2 separate regions of the Homo sapiens genome follow, and region 2 is linked to region 1. Evidence: promoter capture Hi-C in 16 types of primary human blood cells and fetal thymus (Javierre and others, 2016). All regions are on one chromosome and are shown on one strand. Each heading gives the region's core, a stretch centred on a gene start or on the middle of the fragment in contact. The rest is flanking DNA. Distances are from core to core; before and after follow the strand shown.

Region 1 (6,175 bases), core at 2,489-4,988:
TTCTTCCGGAAAAAAAATATGCCCCTCGGAAAAGTTTCTTTCCCTTGGAACTGTTTCCTCACAACCATCATAGTCTGGCATTTAGTGCTGCACTGAAGTCTGAGGCGAGCTTGATTTTGTTTTTCCCTCCTTTACTTTTTCTTCTTAGATTCCTAAATCTTTTTCTTTGAATTTAAATAGTTTAAGATATCGTAGTGCTTCCGTATTCCCACATGACATTTTCTGGAACATGGCATGTTCCTTTGGCCTACAGACCATTTTTTCTTCATCTCAATAAGCTTTCTTTGGACTTATTTTTATTTGAATTTTCTGTCCCATTTGTTGACTTCTCTACATCTGGGACTTCAGTGGTCCCAATTCTTGATTGTATTTTGTCTTTCATAATAGCTTCTTTCTTCTTAATCTTTGTCCCTTTTCAGTTGAATTTACTGGGCTTCCTTACTGGGCTTTCTTCTATTAAAATACTTTTATTTTCAGCAGTATTGCTTCTGTTCTTTCTCCTGACTTATTTATTCTGTCACTATGTTTTTACGGTCTTCAATTTTCCTTTAGGTCTGCAATCTCCCTTTTCATCTCCAGTTTACAATTTTCTCATCTTTGAGTTTGTTTTATTGGATTTATATTTTTATCAAGTTGTTGCACAGTGTAAGGCAATGGTAATGAATTTCTTCTGTTCCAAGTGTAATTCTTTGTTTTTAGTAAGACGTCTTGCAATCCACGTTGTTCTTTCCTTTCCTATTTTTCCCCCTTACCATTTCTGTTCACTTTGCTGCTACTAGTTTGGCTTTAGTACCTCCTACTGATATGGCAGAGTGAAACCTCGACTTCCTTTCCACAACTTTATCTGATTCCAGCTTGTTCTGTAAAGCCTGGGCAATTTCTCTAGCCCAGAAGGTTGGTGCCCAGTGAACCTTCCCCCATCTCACTCACCTTCACCCAGCATAAAGGGCCCACTGTTCCTTTGTGAGAAAAGAAAAAAGCAAAGTATGTTGTGATTCAGTTTCCTCTTTTTTTTTTTTTTAACAAGGACTGGATCAGTCTCCTTCTTTCCTATTTATTACAGAGAAATCTCACTATAGTTTCTGGTGGTTGAGACACATTTAAATTTTAAATTTTTTTTTAAACTTGAGAATTAAAAACAAACAAATGAAAACCAATGACAATGCTGATGGATATCTCCACGTACCAGATGATAAAACCCTGGCTTGTGGGGTAACTCGTTTTCCTGTTAGGGCCAGAGAAAATTTTCAGTGGCTCTGAACTCCTCCCCATCATACATACCTCTCTTTTTCCCTCCTTTGTTTTGTCTTTTCCATACCTCTAAGTCAGCCAACCTCCTCTGCCAATTACCTGTTTTTCCTTTATTCTTCCCTGAATTGCATAGCCCCCAGTTTCATTCTTCCAAAGGAAGAAGAAGGACCCTCAGGGCCAGTGCCGTCAAGCTCTGCTCTAACTCACTAATATTTCACAAATTATAAAATGCCCATTTTCTTTTAACATTTGAGAATTTCTGAAATCAGAATGCTTTCATTCTGGTGGCATGGCATAGCATGATTGACAGTGTTTTTTCTTACTTCATTACATAAAATGAAAGTGCATCTTATAAGCAATGGCATTTTAGTTTGGGTTTTAGCTTTGATAAAACATGATGATTGAGCCTGTAATACTAGCACTTTGGGAGTCCAAAGCAGGTGGATCATTTGAGGTCAGAAGTTCCAGACCAGGCTGGGTAACATAGTGGAAATCCCATCTCTACTAAAAATACAATTAGCCAGGCGTAGTAGCACACGCCTGTAATCTCAGCTACTCAAGAGGCTGAGGCAGAAGAATCGCTTGAACCCAGGAGGGGGAGGTTGCAGTGAGCCAAGACAGTGCCACTGCACTCCAGCCTGCGCGACAGAGCGAGACTTTGTCAAAAACCAAACCAAACCAAACCAAACCAAACAAAACAAAACATGATGATTGATAACGGAAGATGATACATACCATTGACTCTTGAACAGTTTGAAGGTTTATAAAGGTAGCAGAAAAAATGAGTCCAATGTGGCTTTGAGTGTGCAAGTGTGAGCCATGGAATATATATTTTAATAAATGTTTCACGTCTATGACAGTACCTCTAGGGTTATGATCCTTTTCATACTACTTTTTGAAATGACTTTTAGACAAATCACCATTGTCAAATTATGTGAACCAAAATCAGATTTTCTTTAACTTTTCAATAAATACATGAGAAACTTTAGAGGAAATAATAGGTAAGAAAAATGAGTCATGTACATTTTTGATTATCTAAAATTGTGGAAAACAACTTTATGAACAATAGAACTTACAAGTTCAAGTCATTTTCTGCGACAAACAGATCAAGCCTTATCAGCTATGCCCTAATTGCTAGGAGTGTTTATCGAATATTTTCCTTAGGGTAGATTTTGATAGAGTATCTGCTACCCCCTCACCCCCTCAAGCCTGCACAGGTGGATAGGGGGTGGGTGGACAGGATACTGAGAAACCTTGGCAAGCAGTGGGACTTAGCCCCTGGGCCAGTGAGCACACATGGGAAACTCCACCTCTCCCTGAGCCAGCTCCGGCACTTCTCACCACTGAATCAACGCCCAAGCATGCTATATTCGTTTCTAAGACTTCTTGCTAAACAAAACAAGGAAATAAAAAAAAAAATGTTAAAAGAAAGGAGGTGGGAATACTCAGAGTCAATATAACCATCGCTAACCAAATAAACGGGCTGATGGAGTCAACTCGCTACTGCGTGTAACGGATTGATTTGCTCAGGGTTGAAATGCAAGTGCCGATCGCCTCTCCATATTCGCGGAGTATCTTCCCAGTATCTCCCCTCTCCGACCCTGGGAGGGTGCACCCTTCTGTCTCCGCGGCCACGTCCCCTCGCCCCTTCCCCCTCCTGCCTCCACGCAGCGGATCCGGAGGGGTGTAGGCCGCTCCAGCCCCGGCTGCAGTCTGTGACCCTGACGCAGGTCGAGGGGGGCTAATCCCAGGGGACCTCAAGGGGGCGGGCTGGAGATCCCGAACCTGAGCACCCAGCTGGTGAGCCGGTTTTGCAAGGCGGGGTGGACCTGGAGGAATGTGACCCTCAAACTTAGCAACGACTCACATCTTGCAGTGGCAAATGCCCGGTATCCTGGGCATCCTTGGTGGGGTGGGGTGGGACGCGGAGGGGTGCAACGAAAGCGGACTCCCAGCAGGGGCGACGCGTGGAGGGCGCAGGACAGGGCCCGGGAGGGGTCCTGGGGTCGCAGGTGCGGCCCCGGGAGAGAGGAAGGGCGCACTAGCCGCATACTCAAGACGCAGAGGGAGGGCAGGAGGAGGAGGAGGAGTCGGGGAGAGCGAGAGGGAACCGGAGGGGATTCCGGGAACCGCTGCAGGGAGGCGGCGTTTTCCCTCCAGTCAGCTGGCCACGCGCTCCGCTCCCGCGACCCCGCCACGCTGCGTTACCTTTGCAGCTCTCGCCTTGCGGCTCCCGAGAGATGCTAGCCTCGGGCCCCAGCCGCGCCCGGCTCTGGGACCCGACGCTCGCGGTCAGGATGCGCCTCGCGGGCGGCCTCTCGGACAGAAGCGGCGGGCGGGGGACAAAAGCGGCCCGTGCGGCCGGGTGGTGGTCCGCGGGCTGCGCTCGGGGAACTGTTCGGCTCGCCGGCGGGATTCCTACCCGCCGGGAAGAAGCGTCTTTAGTGCGGGTGCGCGCGCCGAGCCCCGGCCTACGAGGAGCGATACGGAAGCGCGGGCGCCGCGCCGCCGCCGGCGCGGGGGCGGGGGCGGAGCCAGGGGCGGGGCCGGAGCCAGGGGCGGGTCCTGGGCCGCTGGCGGGGCTGGAGCAGGGCCGGAGGCGGAGGCCGGGCCGGGGGCTGGGCAGGAGAATAGAAAAAAGGTCCGGTCATTTACAATCGTCTGCTGCCGATTGTCAGCTCCTAACCAATCCCGCCTTCGCCGAGAAAGCTCCATAGGGGAAGAATTTGGGACTGTTTTGTTTACTGAAGTATCCTTAGGGGTTAGAATAGTGCCTGGCATTTAGAAGACACCCAAAGATGTGTTGACTGACTGAATGAATGAATGAACTAAAGAGTGAATGGGTTCTCTCCTGGCTCCCCCACTTGTTAATTGTATAAACCTGCATGATATAATTCTCCAACTAGTAAAACGAGGATAAAAATACCTACCATTGAGTAAATGTTGTAAATATCTACAACATTATCCGTTGTAGATTCTCCCCTCTTCTCCGCGGGTCTCTTCTCCATACTCCTACCCTTCCCTCGACCCCCCACTGATCAACGTGTTTCGGGATAGGCAGAAAGACAGATGTTCTTCATTAATTTGTCTGCTTGTTATTTATAGCCTGTCAACTTCTAAAATAGACTATGAGGCCGGGAGCGGTGGCTCACACCTGTTATCTCAGCACTTTGGGAGGCCAAGGCAGATGGACCATCTGAGGTCAGGACTTCAAGACCCAGCCTGACCAACATGGTGAAACCCTGTCTGTACTAAAAATACAAAAATTAGCTGGGCGTGGTGGCGGGCGCCTGTAATCCCAGTTACTTGGGAGCCTGAGGCAGGAGAATTGCTTGAACCTGGGAGGTGGAGGTTGCAGTGAGTTGAGATTGCACCATTGCACTCCAGCCTGGGAGACAAGAGCGAAACTCTGTCTCAAGAAAAACGAAAAAAAAAAGAAAATCCAAAACCAAAATAGACTATGAGGCAGCTTTCAAGTAAAATGTATGTATATTCTAAACATTACAGCTACTAAAATGGAAATGTTAATATCTTTTTGAAGGAGAGGGAAAAGATACACTAACCACCTAAATTGTTTTAACTGAGTATTTAATCTCTCGTTCAGCTTTCTGGCCTCCTAGGAAAGGGAGGAGGAGGATGTTTCATACTTTTTGTAGATGGGAAAAATGAGCCTTTTAATCTATGAAGTCAACCAACATTTGCTGATACTCCTTTAAGGCTAGGCACAAGGGTGATCATAAAGAGGATGTCACGGTCCTGCCTCTTATGTGACCCTTGGCAGAATTCCCACCAGCCCCATACGATCTGAAGGGAACTTATCTAGGATCCTATTTCTTATAAAAGACATTCAACATTGAAAATATTTTCAGCCACAGTTTTAGAGAATTTGCAGAAATAGCCTCTGAAAATGGGAGAAATCCAATACCAAACTCCATGTGCTGCATGCACTCTTTTATATAAACATATATATTAAAAATAAAACTATGTCAAAACCTTAACTATGACTTATTGCAGATTGGATGATAGTAGGTGATTTTTATTTTGTTTCCTTTCCAAACATTCTACAGTAAACATCCTTACTTATATAATTAGGAAAAAGATTTTTTAAAAAACAAATGCAGTCCTGGCTAACACGGTGAAACCCCGTCTCTACTAAAAATACCAAAAAAAAAAAAAAAAAAAAAAAAAAATTAGCCAGGTGTGGTGGCGGGCGCCTGTAGCCCCAGCTACTCAGGAGGCTGAGGCGAGAGAATGGCGTTAACCCAGGAGGTGGAGCTTGCCGTGAGCCAAGATTGCGCTACCGCACTCCAGCCTGGGCGACAGAGCGAGACTCCGTCTCAAAACAAGCAAACAAACAAAAAACAAAACAAAACAAAAGCAAATGCAGTCTATGCCAAGGTGTGAAGAGCTTGAAAGCTGTCACTCCACTCCCCACAACAAGAGAAAAGCTGAACAAATTGAAGATTAACAACTCTTCTTGTTTCAGTATCAGTGAATTGAGTCACAGGGCAAACTGCAAAAACTGAAAGACAGACAAATGCAAAGAATCACAGTTTACAGGGACCAGAAGCCTCTGAAATCATAGCAAAACTTAAATTGTAATTGACTAATTGCTGGAGACTGAGTGTGGACTAGCTTGAGAATTAAACACTGTTGGGTACTCAGTCTTAGAGGGATGCTCCCCAAATTGTTAAAGGTTTACTCCAAGAAGCTCTACCAAGTTCTCATGGTAAAGACCACAGAAAAATTCCTGACTGGCCGGTGGGAGGGGAAAAGTAAACATTTTGAGATATGCCCAGAGTGTTCTGTAACAAAAACCTGTCCTCAGGGCAATTACATTACTGGAGCCTAAACTGACCTAGCAGAAGGGCAATTAGACAACTCAGCCCCCTCTAGCCTTCCTGTCTATCATGACTGGAGGAAA
Region 2 (5,832 bases), core at 1,595-4,094, 120 kb before region 1:
ACTGGAGAAGGCAAAATTCTGAGATGGCCCCCAAGATTCCTGCCCCCTGGTGTACACATCCTGTATAATCCCCTCCTCTTGAGCATGGGCAGGACCTGTAAATACGATGGAGGCCCTCCTCTCATAATTAGGTTACATTAAGTGGCAGAAGAGAAGGTATTTCACAGATGTAATTAAGGTCCCAAATCAGTTGAATCAAATGAGAGACTATTCTGGGTGGGCCTGACCTAATCAGATGAACCCCTTAAAAGAGGATCTAGGCCAGGCATGGTGGCTCATGCCTCTAATCCCAGCACTTTGGGAGGCTGAGGTGGGCAGATCACTTGGGGCCAGGAGTTTGCGAACAGCCTGGCAAACATGGAGAAACTCCGTCTCTACTAAAAATACAAAAAAAATGGCTGAGCGCGGTGCCTCACGCCTATAATCCCAGAACTTTGGGAGGCTGAGGCGGGTGGATCACCTGAAGTCAGGAGTTCGAGACCAGCCTGGCCAATACGGTGAAACCCCGTTTCTACTAAAACTACAAAAATTAGCTGGGTGTGGTGGTGCACACCTGTAGTCCCAGCTACTTGGGAGGCTGAGGCAGAAGAATCACTTGAACCCAGGACGCGGAGGTTGCAGTGAGCTGAGATCATGTCACTGCACTCCAGTCTGGGTGACAGAGTGAGACTCCGTCTCAAAAAAAAAAAAAAAAGGATCTAGAGGTCAGACTCTCCCTTCCTGATGGCCTCTAAGAAGTGAGCCACCATGAGCTCTAGAAATAAATTCTGCCAACAACATGTGAGCTTGGGAGCGGCCCCCAAGTCTTGTATGAATGACTGACTCCTTGACTGCTTAGCAGAAGAGCCAGCTAAGCCACGCTTGGACTCCTGACTCACAGAAACTTTGAGACAATAAACAGCTGTTTAAGTTGCTAAGTCTGTGGTAATTAGTTACAGACACAGAAAACTAACATCTAATAGTTGTCTACTTAAAAAAAATCTGAATTAACAATCAAGGCCTTGTTCATACCTTATCTCTTTCCTTATGGCTTCTTTGGTCTCTTTAGCCCCTATTCACCTTTACATTTTCAATTTCTGCAACCCTTATAATTTGTATACCACTCTTTAGTCCTAAACCACACAACACTTTGCAATGTTGGCTAACTGCTTTCAATTTTTGAACCACGTTTGATTCTGCTGACTCTTTCCATTTCTTCAGTGCTTTGTACAATATGGTAAGTACCCAAAAGAAGCTTAGAGATCAGCTATCAGAAATACCTCTCATTATCTATTTGGTGACCCTATTATTTATTCACTTCTGAAAGTGAGGTATACACAAAAGACTACTGAACAGTTTCCTGATTGGTTTGTGAGGTTATATATGCATTGTGGGGCACATATGCACATAAATGCATTTGCATTCTACCAGTCACCCTTGGTTCAAAATTAACACTAAAAGATAGAAATTGATCATAGCGGTACTTACACTTCCCTTCTCCCTCATTTTTTCTGTTTCTTTCCAGTTTCTTCTGACTTTTCCTTTCCTGTCTTAGCTATACTTGCCTTTGCTCTCTCTACTCCTCTGCCACCAATGTATATCTTTCTTTCCATCTCTTTTCTCCCCATAACCCATTTTTCCTTCTACTTAATTTTCCTCTTCTCTTTTCTCTATTCATCTCCTACAATTTTCCAATCAATATAAACTACATGCAGTTCTCTTTTATCAGCTTTTTAAAAATTTTAATGCTTAGAGATGGGGGTCTCACTATGTTGCCCAGGCTGCAGTGCAGCGGCTACTAGCAGGTGTGATCATACAACACTGCAGCCTCAATTCCTGGCCTCAAGTAATCCTCCTGCCTCAGCCCACTGAGTAGCTGGGACGATAGGCATGCGCCACTGCACCAGGCCAGTTCTCTTTCATTTATGCAGCGCCTGGACTTCATCCATGTTTAGCTAGCCTCTGCTCAACCACATAGAACATAGTTCTTTCCAACTTTCTTTCCCACCGAAGTATCTACTACAAAATTTTGTCAAAACCACTAAAGTAATAAAGAAAATAGGAAGGCTAATTTTTTGAATTGAACAAGTGAGTGGACTGAGATCATTTTAAGGACTCATGGAAGAAGTGAGTTCTTAGAAAAAGATCAGGGTCAACTGTCGAGTCTTCCAGATTGGGGAAATAACACATGCAACTAGTTACACTTTCTTTTTTTTCTTAAGCCAGTAAGAACCCCAGATATTAGAATCCATCTATTTTACAAGTGAAGAAATTGAGGCCCATGGAGGTTAAGCGATTAGCTCAATGTCATCCAGTTAGTTACTGGCAGAACTGGGGTTAGAAATGAGATTTCTCACGTTTCCAATATATCGTACCCACCTCCCAGTCGGTCATTCTGTGTGCAAGGACCTGGTGACTGATGCAGAGCGAAAAGAAGCATAATCAAAACAAACTGGGCAAAAGGAAATTTATGGAATGGAACTTACTGGAGCCACTGAACTTGAAAGGTCATGTTTGCATATGTATAATCCCATTTAAGAACATAGTTCTGATTTTGGACACTGACTTCTATATTTTCTGGTGGAGGTAGTTCATTTTCAACTAGAAGCCAAAGAACAGATAAAAAAAAGCACACATTTTTACTCAAGTGAGATAACTGGCAAGAAGATAAAGGCTCGCATTTTATCATTATAAGGTAATAGTTAAATATGGTTTGTATTCACACTATGTAATACTATGCAGCCATTTGAAAGACTACAGGCCGGGCGCAGTGGCTCACACCTGTAATCCCAGAACTTTGGGAGGCTGAGGTGGATGGATCACCTGAGGTCAGGAGTTCGAGACGCGCCTGGCCAACATGGTGAAACCCCATTTCTACTAAAAATACAAAAATTAGCCAGGCATGATGGCACACGCCTGTAATCCCAGCTACTCGGGAGGCTGAGGCAGGAGAATCGCTTGAAGCTGGGAGGCAGAGGTTGCGGTGAGCCGAGATTGAGCCACTGCACTCCATTCTGGGCAAGAGAGTGAGACTCTGTCTCAAAAATAAATAAATAAATAAATAAATAAATAAATAAATAAGTAAAAAAGAAAGAATGCAATAGATGGCTAAGATCAAATGAAGAACGTAATAGATCTGTATTGAGTGATATAGAATATCCCCAACACACTGGGTTAAGTAAGCAAGCTGTAAAATACTTCTAGTAAGATTTTATTTTGTAATTTTAAAAAACAAAACCCAAGAAACTGTGGGTCTGTGTATATGCTTACATAAATCCTGAAAAAAGTTGTGAAAGGATATACACAAACTGCTAAGCAATGCTTATCTCTAGTGAATGGAATTGGGGATAAGAAGGGAGAAGAAGACTTCACTTTAAACCCTTCCGTAATGTTTGATTAAAAAAAAAAGCATATGAAATTTACAATTAAAATAAACAAATCCCAGCTCCTGCCCTTGACCTTAATTATTGGAAAGATGTTACTAAATGTATCAGGATACTTTCATATTTTAACATTCCACTTACAAAGGTATGCTTTCTTGAACAATAACTTGTCTACTAGCAACTACTTCCCCACCTTTTCTTCCCACTTGCAGAACTCATAGTTCAGCTACCTCCTGCTTCATGTGGATTCTGAACAAATGAAAAGTTTTGTCATTACAAAATATTTGAACTTTTTTTTTTTTCTAAGACGGAGCCTTACTCTTTGTCCCCCTTGCTCCCGACTGGAGTGCAGTGGCGCGATCTTGGCTCACTGCAACTTCCACCTCCCAGGTTCAAGGGATTCTTGTGCCTCAGCCTCCCAAGTAGCTACCACTACAGGCGTGAGCCACCACGCCCAGCTAATTATTTTTAGTAGACACGGGGTTTTCCCATGTTGGCGAGGCTGTTCTCGAACTTCTGGCTTCAAGTGATCCAGCTACCTCAGCCTCTCAAAGTGCTGGGATTACAGGCGTGGGCCACTACGCCCAGCCTGAACTTTTAAGTAGAATTAATTTTCATTACTATTTGAGACAAAAATCCCAAGTAACATTTATTTTGCTTATGTAAATGTTACAATGTTTTTAACATATATTGACCTATCATGTAAACTTCAGCAATATGGGGAAGATGCCAAAATTGACAATCTGTTTATATATTTATTGAATCTAAAACAAAACATCTTCCTTACCTGTGGTCTTTATACAATGTACTGGACTATAGACACCAATTTTCCATGACGTAAGTAGTGCTGCTTTAACTTTTAGACAATAAGTAGTCTCTGGTGAGAGTTTATAAATTTTATGTCTGGAATAAATATTTTCAATCCTTTCCTATAACACAAATATAAGTTGGTTCTTTAAAAAAGTATAAAGTCAAATTTTAGGATTAATTCGCCTAATTTTTCTCTCACATCGATTAAACAGAGGTAAAAATAATGCTTACTTCTACACCTGAAGAGTTTTTCCAGATAACTAAGCTATATGTAAAGCTTAAACCATCCAAAGCCCACATAACACTATCTTTTGTTCCAGGAGAGATGTGTATCACTATTGCCTTATCTTCAGCTTCTAAATGTACTTCTGGAGGACCAATCTGAGCTGCAAAAAAATCAAAACAATTACTATGGAACTTTATTAATACAATGCCAAAACCTTCATTCAACAAATAATTCTGAGCACTTAATATGTGCCTGCCACTTCTGGGAGTTAAGAGCATACAGATAGGATAGAAAGCTGTAAGATCACCAGTGGAGTGATACAGAAAGAGAAGAGGTTCAATGACTGAGCCCAGCAGCAGTCTAACACTGAAAAGTTGGGAAGATGAAGCGATCAATGAGCAGGAGGAGAACCAGGAAAGAGCAGTGTCCCAGAGATCCAGTAAAGGAAAAACTGAGTGATGACCACATCTATGCTACAGAGGGATGAAGCCAGAAGAGGACTGGGAATTTGCTTGGCATTGTGGAGGCTGCTGTGACCTTGAGAAGAGTGGTTTATTTATTTTTTTTTTTTGAGACGGAGTCTCGCTCTGTCGCCCAGGCTGGAGTGCAGTGGCACGATCTCGGCTCACTGCAAGCTCCGCCTCCCGGGTTCATGTCATTCTCCTGCCTCAGCCTCCCGAGTAGCTGGGACTACAGGCTCCCGCCACCATGCCCGGCTAGTTTTTTTTTTTTTTTTTTTGTATTTTTAGTAGAGACAGGGTTTCACCGTGTTAGCCAGGATGGTCTCGATCTCCTGACCTCGTGATCTGCCCGCCTTGGCCTCCCAAAGTGCTGGGATTACAGGCGTGAGCCACCGCGCCTGGCCAAAAAGAGTGGTTTTAAGTGAGGAGGAACAGAATTTGAATGGAGAGGGCTGACAGGGAATTGGAAGATTAGTATAGAAAGGGAGTACAGATCATTCTTGGTACAGGGCAGTGGTTCTCAAACCTTTTGGTCTCAGGATCCCCACTTTTTTTTGAGATATGGTCTAGCTCTGTTGCTCAGGCTGGAGTGCAGTGGCACAAACACAGCTCACTGCAACCTTGATCTCCCAGGCTCAAGTGATCCTCCCTCTTCAGCTTCCTGAATAGCTGGGACTACAGGTGTGCACCACCATGCCTGGCTAATTTTTATATATTTTTTGTAGAGATGGGGTCTCACTATGTTGCCTAGGTTGGTCTTGAACTTCTGGCCTCAAGTGATCCTCCCACCTCAGCCTCCCAAAGTGTTGGAATTACAGGTGTGGGCCACTACACTCAGCTCCTTTACATTCTTAAAGGAATTATCGAGAATCCCAAACAGCCATTATTTATGTGGGCTGTATATTTTTATATTAGCATATTAAACATTAAAACTGGTAAAGTTTTCAATCCATTTTAACTAATTAATCCATTA

The links. The method cuts DNA at HindIII sites, captures the fragments that hold promoters and counts their contacts. A CHiCAGO score of 5 or more calls a contact.
Region 2: a contact is called between a fragment that was not itself captured here and the fragment with the promoter of IFNAR2 in region 1, in 12 of 17 cell types (neutrophils, naive CD4 T cells, naive B cells and 9 more). The highest score is 11.1, in neutrophils.

What each region holds. Positions count from the first base shown.
Region 1 is chr21:33,227,501-33,233,675 of GRCh38, reverse strand. IFNAR2 (interferon alpha and beta receptor subunit 2) reads right to left here and starts at 3,738. Exons shown (of 9, transcript NM_001289125.3): 1 at 3,460-3,738. It overlaps IFNAR2-IL10RB (IFNAR2-IL10RB readthrough), which reads right to left and starts at 3,738. Exons shown (of 13, transcript NM_001414505.1): 1 at 3,460-3,738. RefSeq lists silencers at 1,860-2,049, 3,272-3,321, 3,342-3,401, 3,462-3,921. The HindIII fragment of the contact is 6,332 bases long and covers 281-6,175 here.
Region 2 is chr21:33,341,994-33,347,825 of GRCh38, reverse strand. IFNAR1 (interferon alpha and beta receptor subunit 1) reads right to left here. Exons shown (of 11, transcript NM_000629.3): 4 at 4,404-4,558; 5 at 4,150-4,291; 6 at 2,466-2,580. Among named protein-coding and RNA genes, the nearest start is that of IFNAR1, 20 kb to the right of the region's middle. The HindIII fragment of the contact is 3,215 bases long and covers 1,237-4,451 here.